Regions from separate parts of the Homo sapiens genome. Here regions 1 and 2 are each linked to region 3. Evidence: promoter capture Hi-C in human tissues and cell types (Jung and others, 2019). All regions are on one chromosome and are shown on one strand. Each heading gives the region's core, a stretch centred on a gene start or on the middle of the fragment in contact. The rest is flanking DNA. Distances are from core to core; before and after follow the strand shown.

The links. The method cuts DNA at HindIII sites, captures the fragments that hold promoters and counts their contacts. A contact is called where the count stands out against the background at its distance.
Region 1: a contact is called between a fragment that was not itself captured here and the fragment with the promoter of STK38 in region 3, in 1 of the 25 tissues and cell types used here (mesenchymal stem cells).
Region 2: a contact is called between a fragment that was not itself captured here and the fragment with the promoter of STK38 in region 3, in 1 of the 25 tissues and cell types used here (pancreas).

Annotation. Positions count from the first base shown.
Region 1 is chr6:36,323,768-36,326,781 of GRCh38, forward strand. It overlaps BNIP5 (BCL2 interacting protein 5), which reads right to left. Exons shown (of 12, transcript NM_001010903.5): 5 at 2,743-2,986; 6 at 1,516-1,647; 7 at 362-423. Among named protein-coding and RNA genes, the nearest start is that of BNIP5, 12 kb to the right of the region's middle. The HindIII fragment of the contact is 8,343 bases long and covers 1-3,014 here.
Region 2 is chr6:36,727,153-36,730,255 of GRCh38, forward strand. RAB44 (RAB44, member RAS oncogene family) reads left to right here. Exons shown (of 14, transcript NM_001257357.2): 11 at 425-539; 12 at 1,548-1,649. Among named protein-coding and RNA genes, the nearest start is that of RAB44, 31 kb to the left of the region's middle. The HindIII fragment of the contact is 8,420 bases long and covers 1-3,103 here.
Region 3 is chr6:36,545,671-36,549,032 of GRCh38, forward strand. STK38 (serine/threonine kinase 38) reads right to left here and starts at 1,809. Exons shown (of 14, transcript NM_007271.4): 1 at 1,520-1,809. RefSeq lists an enhancer at 1,344-1,867 and a silencer at 1,615-1,954. The HindIII fragment of the contact is 5,084 bases long and covers 1-3,362 here.

The DNA.
Region 1 (3,014 bases), core at 3-2,502, 220 kb before region 3:
GGCAGGTGGATCACCAGGGGTCAGGAGTTCGAGACCAGCCTGGCCAATATGGTAAAACCCTGTCTCTACTGAAAATACAAAAATTAGCCGGGTGTGGTGGCGCATGCCTGTAGTCCCAGCTACTCAGGAGGCTGAGGCAGGAGAATCGCTGGAGCCCAGGAGGTGGAGGTTGTAGTGGGCCATGATCGAGCCACTGTGCTTTAGCCTGGGCGACAGAGCAAGACTCCGTCTCCAAAAAAAAAAAAAAAGGAGGGACTGGAGCAGGACACAGAAGAGCAGCAGAGACAGGGAAGTTGTTACACCAGGCAGGGTTGGGGAGCCCACAGTGAGGTCAGGGTTACATGGGGAGCGTCTTCCTCACCTCCTCTCCTTGCTGTTCTTCTGCATCTTGGAGCATGGAAATGATCTTCTGAATGAATTCTTCTGAAAAAGATCAACACGCATGGTTAACTTTGGTGCTACGAAATCTCTTCTGCGGTCAGTCTTCATTTCCTAATGCCCCGGTGGCTCCCTGGGTGATTCTCCAAGGGGGCTAAAGAGCTGCCAGAGGTGGCCTGAGGGCAGAGCTGGTTTCATGGGATACATATTCACTTTACCAATGACGGCCTCTAAATAGACACCCAGGAGGAGGCCCCTCAGGGCCATCTGGAAAGGCCCATTCCCTACAGGTGCCCTCATCCTGCACCTTCTCCCTGTCCAGGCAGAATTTCCCTTCAAGGCATATTTTCTATGAAAAGCAAACAAGGCAGAATGGCAGGGGATAGGGGGCAGAGATCTTTCCAGGTCTTTTCAGACCTGACGGTGATATTATATATATATATATATATATATATATATATATATATATATATATATATATATATATATATATATATATATATGTTTCTAGGCCTGGCTCTGCCAATGGTAAAATAATAATTACAGCGATGGCAGCTGCCATTAGCTGAGCTTCCCTCCCAAGGCCCCTACCCCTGTCCCTATCCTTTTTACTTCTGAGCTCTGCTCTCAAGCTGGGCCACCCAACAATGACAATAATAGCAACAAATGGCACCTAACACATATTAGCCACTAACAGGGGCTGCCCTAAATGCTGCCGACAATTCTAGAAAGCAGGTACTTGCTGCCCCCATTTCACAGATGAAGAAACTGAGACCAGAGATGAAGTAACTTGCCCAAGTCCACACAGCTCAAAGGGGTCACAGCCCAGACTCAAACCAAGGTCCATAAGATCACCCCATTGGCCGAGCCCTTGGTGTGGGCCAGCACTTTCCTCCCTTTGCCTCCTGTCTGCCTCATCAGGGTAAGCACCAACACTATCGCCATTTATCGAGGTTCAGACAGGCAGCCTGGCTTGGGCCTGGGCTCTGGGCCCCAAGCTGCCTCCCCAGCCTGCTGTACTCAGAGGGAGGTCTGGACAGGTCACTGCCTCTCTCTGGCTCAGTGTCTCTTTGCAAGTGGGGGAGTCAGAACAGAAGTTTTGCAAGGGGTGTCTGAGAAAAAGAGAGGAGTACTGACTGTATTCCGAGGCTCTGTCCAGCGGAAGCTCCTCTCCAGGTTCCTGGCTCTCTGATGGGGTGGGAAGCACGGAGGGACCTGGAGCCCCAGCCTCTGTAGATGGGGCCTCCTGGACTTTAGGTTCTTCCAAGCCTGAGAAGCAGAAGGAGAACGAGGGTGTGTTTTGTCTGTCTGGGGCTGTTAACTATGCACAGAAGCTAGCACAAACTAAAAGTGGGCTCCGTGGCTGGATCACATTAAGGACTTATGGGGCTGGAAGACAGCTGCTGGGCAGGGCTGTGCCTCTGATTTACTGGCCCAGACCGAGTTCCCTTATCCCTTTGTGCTTCCATAGAACTGGCTTTCCTGGGCTTTGCTGCCCTCTCCTCCCTCCACCATTTTGACTTGATCCACAAGTTGAAGAGTAGAGGCCTGGTCCCATGGCATGAATTAATGAATCATAGCCAGAATCCCCCTGCATGAAAATATCTCCCCATGGGCCTGAAATTCCCCTCTTTGGTGTTAAGCGTCACTCCCTCCTTTCTAAGATGTAAATTCTCCTGGCCAGGATGACCTAACAGGATGACCTGTTCTCCCTGATGCCCAGGAAGAAATGACTTGTCTGATCCTTTCCGCCTCTAGCTCTGGCCCCATCATCCATGGGCCATGTGGCCTTGAACACATTGTTTTACCTCCCAAAGCCTCAGGTCCTTCATCTGTAAGGTGGGGATAATAGTTGTACTCCATGTGATGGCTGTGGGGATAATAGTTGCACTTCATCTGATGGCTGTGAGGACTGATCGTGTTATAGATATGCAGCAGGGAAATGTCTCACTTTACAGGTGAAGAAATTGAGGCACAAAGATGGGGAATGACATAGACAATATGCTAGAACCCAGGTCTCCTGCCTCCCCTGCTCCAGCTCCTTCTTGCACACACTACTCCCCTCCCTGCCAGGGTGCAGAAGTTGAGGCGGCCAAGAAATGTTGACGGTTGGGAAATCCCGGAACATAATTTCCATCAAGGGCTTATTGGGGTTGCCTAGAGCTCGCTGAGGTGTTGTGTGTGGAGGTGACCTGCTGGCATTCTTTCTGTCTTCCCACAGTCATCCTCACACCACTCAGGGCAGAGTGCAAAAGTCAGACCAGGCACAACGCAACCTTTAAAATGGTCAATTCCATCCCCAGGGAAGGTTCCAGAGCTGGAGGCAGCTGCAGGGTTGCTATGGCAACTGCAGAGCCTGCTCACCATAGCTGCTGGAGATGGAAGGCCGATGGCCGCTGACACACAGGGGCAGAAAGCTGGACTTCTTGGGTGGCCAGGCCTCTGGACTGGAAACATCTGCAGCCCCCCTCTTGGCCTCCTCGGAGCCGTGTTTCTTGGGGTTTGTCTTTGAGGTTCTCTTGAGGCTTGTCTTTTTCTCTTGGGATTTCTTCCTAACAGCTGGTGCTGGGTTTGGCAGGGCCACCCCCAGCTGTGAGGCCAGAGATTGCTGTTGGGGAGAGGAGAAAAACTGGTCA
Region 2 (3,103 bases), core at 85-2,584, 180 kb after region 3:
AGAACACTGAATATTAATGAGTATGATGAATGTTTTACACTGTATTTGTATAAAATAGAGGGGGAAAGATGTATGTGTATGGGTGTATATATGTGTGTGTATATATATGTATATACGTAAAATGCCTCTGGAAAAATATTTAAGAAACTGATAACCCTGGTTGCCTCTGGGGAGGGGGACTGGGTGGCTCCAGGATGGGGCAGAAGGAAGGAGACTTTTCATTGAGTTCTCCTTGAGACCTTTTGAAATTTGAGCCATGAGAACTGTTACCTAGTCAACAATAACTACACTGTACGAAGAAAAGCATACGGACATGCTCTGTGGGAAGCAATTAGAAGTAGGATAGGTTACTTCTCCCACTTTGCAGAGGCCAGGGCCTGGGGTCTGGATGCCTGGTGTGGCCTCATGCAGACTCTCTGGGCAGGTACCACAGTATGACGCGACAGCTGCTCCGCAAGGCTGACGGGGTGGTGCTCATGTACGACATCACCTCCCAGGAGAGCTTTGCCCACGTGCGCTACTGGCTAGACTGTCTCCAGGTGAGCAGATGGCTGCTGGGGTTGGCCCCAGTCCCTCCAGTCAAGAGGGATCTTATATCCTGCCCACTCCCTCTTTTCTCCCAGGATTACAAATGACATGACAGACATATGGGTGACACCACCCACTGAGGGCATGTGGTTGGATGAGCTGGGAATGCAGTAGTACAAAGAAACCACAACCACATAGTACAGACTTCAAACCAAACTACTTCCTTTATCCTGTGAACATTCTCTTCCTACATATGGCAGCTGTTTGTAATGTCTTCTTCTTACACTTGAGGCTAATGTAGTTCTTGTGCCATTCCATGTGGTAATTCCTCTGTTCACACATCTCTAGTTTTTCCCCTGCTTACTTCCTCAAAGCATATATACTGAAATTCTGCAGTGTGTACTAGCACAGCAGAGGGGTGTGAAGTTAGCCATGTTGCCTTCTCTCTGGAAGTTTCTAGTTTAGCAAAAGAAGCAGGATAAGGTAATGTGTGAAGAGGGGAGCTGAGCACTGGGGTCTGACAGGACCTACATTTGAATCCCACCCACCCGAACTCTGTGACTTTGGACAAGTGAATTGAGTTCTCTGAACTTCAATTTCTGGAATTCTCTCATAGGGGAGTTGTGACAATTAATTGATAGAATTGCTTTCAGCACAGCACCTGGTGTATAGCAATCACTCACTAATCAGAAACTATTATTATTATTCATGAGACAATTGGGAAAATGTATAATCAAGTGCTGGACTGTTCAGAACAGGCAGGAAGAGAGGACATGGGCAGGAACAACCCAGGAAGGCTTCCTGGGGGAGGTGTTCTTAAGGTTGGCCTTGGAAAATAAGTGAGATGTTTATCAGCAGAGAGGAAGGATGGGGGAAAGGGTCCAGGTGAGAAGGTTATGGAGTGGATGTGGCCTGGGAGGGGGAACATGCGGGGGACACAGTTCAGCTTCTAGGAAGGCAAATGTGCCAGGAGCCTGGCACACAGTGGGTGTGGCTGACAGAACATGTTCTGTGTGCAGGATGCAGGGTCGGATGGGGTGGTCATCCTTCTCCTGGGAAACAAGATGGACTGTGAGGAGGAACGGCAAGTGTCCGTGGAAGCTGGGCAGCAACTGGCCCAGGTAAGCACTTGGGCATCAGCCCGTCTCTGTGCGTGGACTGGGCAGACACCTCCCTGGCAGGTGGTGGATAGGCATCACCTGACCTGGGCAGCCGAGAAGAACCCGTGGCCCATTCCTGCCCCTGCCCCAACCAAAGGCCTGTTCAGAGTGGACAGCAGCCTAGCCACCTCTGCCTCCCACACAGCCCTGGCCTCTGGAGATGCGCTTTAAGCCCAAACCCAAGGCTGGAGTGGCGGGCGTGACACTGAACCTCACTGTTGAATTAGCACATTCCCACACCATGTCCCCACCTACATAAGAAATAGCTTCAGAGTAAAAAGGTTTTGAAAGCTTTGCTTAAAATTCCCAATCAAATTTTAATTTTATCTCTGGTCTCTAATTAACGTGCTGCCTTCTAAGTTCTCCTATTTTAAGACTCAAATTCTCCCTTGGGATGATTACATCAAAAGCCCCACTGCCAGACAGTGAACACTATCTATTCATGAATGGCATTTAACCACATTCCAGAAAATCTGGAGAGTAATAAAAATAGAGGGAAAAATCACTCCTCGCCCCACCTCTCACACAACCCCTCTTGGCATCTTCCTACTGTATTTCCTTCCTGTTTCTCTTCCCACTTCCCGTAAATTGTGAGGTCATCATTGTGGCTCCTGCTGGAAGGGAATTTTTTTTCTTTCTTTCTTTCTTTTTTTTTTTTTTGAGATGGAATCTTGCTCTGTCACCCAGGCTGGAGTGCAGTGGCACGATCTTGGCTCATTGCAACCTCCGACTCCCGGGTTCAAGCGATTCTCCCACCTCAGCCTCCTTAGTAGCTGGGATTACAGGCATGTGCCACCACGCCCGGCTAATTTTTGTATTTTTAGTAGAGACGGGGTTTCACCATGTTGGCCAGGCTGATCTGGAACTCCTGACCTCAAGGGATCTGCCTACCTCGGGCTCCCAAAGTGCTGGGATTACAGGCGTGAGCCACCATGCTCGGCCTTTTTCTTAAAAGTAGTAACTCATCCCTTTGACATAGTAATTTATCCTCTAGCAATTTATCGTAAGGGAAGACTCAGAAGTAATAATCCCTAAAGGAACACCTAATGGATACCCATGTATAACGTACAATCGAACAGGTTTATATGAGGGTTTTCAAATATTATTTATAAGAACAAACATTTGGCAGCAATTGGTGGTTAAACTGTGGATGTTCATGTGAGAGGTTAGTATTTGCCATTAAGAATCCTGTCTTGGAAAAATATTTAAGGGTGTGGGGGAAATGCTTACAATATAATAGAAAATCATATAAGCAGCTACAAATCTAGATATAGGTTAGGTTGAAACATATGAAATTGCTGATATTTGACTGGAGCTTGCCAAAAATAGCAATTTCGTGTGGTTTAACCTAACTGTACAGGACAGTTAGCCCCCGCCCCGTAAAAGGGTTATATAAAACAGAATGGCAATATCTA
Region 3 (3,362 bases), core at 559-3,058:
TTAAGACAGGACTATCCATCAGGCTTTCCACAATTCAAGCCTTCCTGCCCTGACCTAGAAGCCATTGGAGGCCTTTGCCCCATTTGTTTCATTCTTCAACTCTGAAGAATTAGGAAATAATAGGTGGCTGAGGAATTCTTCAAAGTTTTAAAAAATTAACAAAAGGAACTGATCCTCATAAAAGTCAGGTGTAAGGCCTGCAAACTCAAAAGGAAGTCAAATGAAAACCATTATGTGATTCAATCTATATGGTTATGCCTGGCTAACTGACTGACTTTACAATGGTACTCTGTGATCACTATAAACAACCCTCTCTCAACAATATGGACTTTATTTCTTTGCGACTGACAATCCATTATCTTTCATTTGGACGATTCAACATTGGAGCTAAGATTATTGCTTAAGTCGCATGTCTAATCTCTCCCACTGAACTGTAAATCCTACTAAACTGTAATCTCTACCTACACTAGAAAGCAAGCACCATGTCTTATACTTGTTTTAATATTCTTCCCCCATTTCATGCACAGTGCTATGCACTTAGCACCTTAAGAAAGATTAACTAGGAAATATACTCATTTTTGATGTCCATTCCTAGGAGTTTATGTGTGATGGGGGATAGGGCTGGGACATGAAATGGTTTGCTATAGCGTTCTCTCCTCTTAGGAGGAAGCTGGTATCTAACGTTTAGGGTGGGGAGGAGAGCCTGTTATCGAGGTGGTGGTTGTTTTATGTTTAGGGAAACCAAATATATTGCCTGGCTAATTCAGAGGCAGGGTGAGCTCAAAGGGTGGAGACACTCAGGGTCTACTTCACTCCAACCCTCCTCGGTGCATTTCAAACAGAACAAGTTTCTCTCCGAGTCTTTTAGTCGTTTCAGAATGAACTGAGAGATCTGGTCTCTCTGCCGGCCGTTCTGCCCGCTTTCTGACACAGACTTTCCTCTAAGCCCTTACCGACTTTTTCCTCTGGCTGTTGCTTTTCCACTCTCTTCTTAAGAATTTTCCCTGCCTTTTCCTGTGATTTGAAGCTTATCTGAAGCCCAGTATCCTAAGACTAACGGAGAAAGGAGCCGACTCAAAGATACCACACCCCAAGGGGGGCTTTCGACATCTCTGCCTCAGACCACAGTTCACAGACCCCAGAAGAAGGAAAAGGAGATAAAAACCGGTGATGACCGAGATCCCTGAGGGACTGACTGGTGGCAGGGAGCAGACAAAGGTGGCAACATGGAAAGGAAAGCCTGGCTCCCGCTCCAACTGCAAAAGGAGAAAGATAAAGGATGGGGTGGAAAGGCTGGGACTGGAAAAATGTGGAGAGGGCCAACAAGGGGCATCTGGAGACGGGGGAAGAAGGGGGTTAAGGAGAGGGGCGGAGAGAGGCCAAGAGGCTGAGAGGTTAGGGCTTGAAAGAGGGCGCCGGCGAGCAGGAGAAAGCCCAAGAAGGAGTCGGAGGTTGGGGAAGGAGGAGATAAAGGAAAAACCCCGGGATGGAGTGAAGACGGCGGCAGCAAGCAACTCACCAGAGCCCAGGGAGAGGCAGGGCTGGGGACGGCGGAGAGCCGCAGACGCCCCTTCGGCCAGTAGTCTCGACTTGAAGGCTGGCGAAGCCCCGGCGGCGGCAGCCAACGAGCCAAAGACGGGAGGGGACGCGTGAGGGACTCTGAGACAGGGGGCAACAGGCGGTTACGGGTGAGGACAACAGGAAGCGTTCCAACTGCCGGAAAAGACGCGAGCGCTGAGGGGCCAAGGCAGCCCGGTCCCCCGCCGCGGAGACGGGCTGGCGCGGCAGCCCGGGGCCGAGACTACGCATGCGCGACTTCCCGGAGCGGCCGGGATTGCGGAACTGCGCTTGCGTGGCCCCGCCCTGCCCCTCCCTTCACCCCCTGCCTAGGGCTGGCTGGACCTGGGTGAGGCCAGATGTGTGAGTGTGAGGCGGTCTCGAAGTAGGCTGGGCTGAGGGGGAAGTTCCATTGTTTTCTTTTGTTTTACTTTTTACTTCGAAATAATTATGGACTCACAAGAAGTTGCAAAATTAATACATACAGGTTCCCTATACCATCACCCACCCAGCTTACCTCAACATTTTTCTTAAGATACAACATTCTCAAAGCCAGGAAATTGACATTCGCACAATACAATTAACTAAACCAATACAATTAACTAAACCAATACAATTAACTTCATTACAGACCACACTCGGATTTAACCTGTTGGGTATGCAGTCATGTGCGTGTGTGTGAGTGTGTGTGTAGTTCTATGAAATGTTGTCACCTGTATAGTTCCCACCCACCCCCCTACCCCGTGTAGAACAGGTCTGCTGGAGCCCTTGGCCCCCCTCCTCTTCCTTAAAGTAAGGACCTTACCTGGGATAAGGTGAGCTCTCATAGGTTTGGGAGGTTACCCAGCGGGCGACCCAGTGTGGACAGAAGAAGGTGCTTTTCAAGGCCACCCAACTCTTATTCTGTACTACTTTTGGGGGTAAAGAGGTCCCAAGTTTAATAGCCTTTGGGCACTTGTCGTTTCTTGAGAATGGAGCACAAAGCCCTCAACTACAAAGTGTCAAGCTCCTGGAAACTAAGATGAACGAGACATGGTCCCTGACTGCCTGCAAAGGGGCCATCTAGGGAGAGAAGGAAGCATGTGCTGCGAGTTATTCATTCATTTCATCTTCAAAGCCCAGTTTCCTTTTGTCTAGCCTCTTAACAAAAATCACTTCTCGCCAGGCGCGGTGGCTCCTGCCTGTAATTCCAGCACTTTGGGAGGTCCAGGTGGGAGGATAGCTTGAGCCTAGGAGTTTGAGACCAGTCTGGGCAACATAAGGAGAATCCACCTCTAAAAAAATTTTTGTAATTGGCCAGCATGGTGGCAAGTGCCTGTGGTCCCACCTACTGTGGAGGCTGAAGCAGGAGGATTGATTGAGTCCAGGAGTTCAGGGCTGCTATGAGCCATGATCATGACACTGCACCCCAGCCTGGGCAACGGAGGGAGACCCTGTCTCAATCAGTCACTACATACATATCAATCAATCACTTCGCCTTTCATTCTCTCTGCCCAGAGGCCCTTCTCCCCAAATGCCTGTTGTCAAAGTCCTACCCATTCTTAAGCTTTTAATAATAGTCCAAGATGTCTGCATAATGCTTTACAGTTTACAAACAACTTTCACTTATTTAATCTCACTTGGTCCTCACTTTGGCAGTGACACACGAGGTTTTGCAGATGAAGTAATTGATACTTAGAGAAGCTAAGTGACTTGTCTGAATTCCCACGGCTAGTAAGCCAAGTAGCCAAGAGGGGAACCCCATTTTCTGTCTGCAAATCCAATGTTCTTTCTCCTCTTCTCTTTCCTCCTTCCAAAGCCCAGCT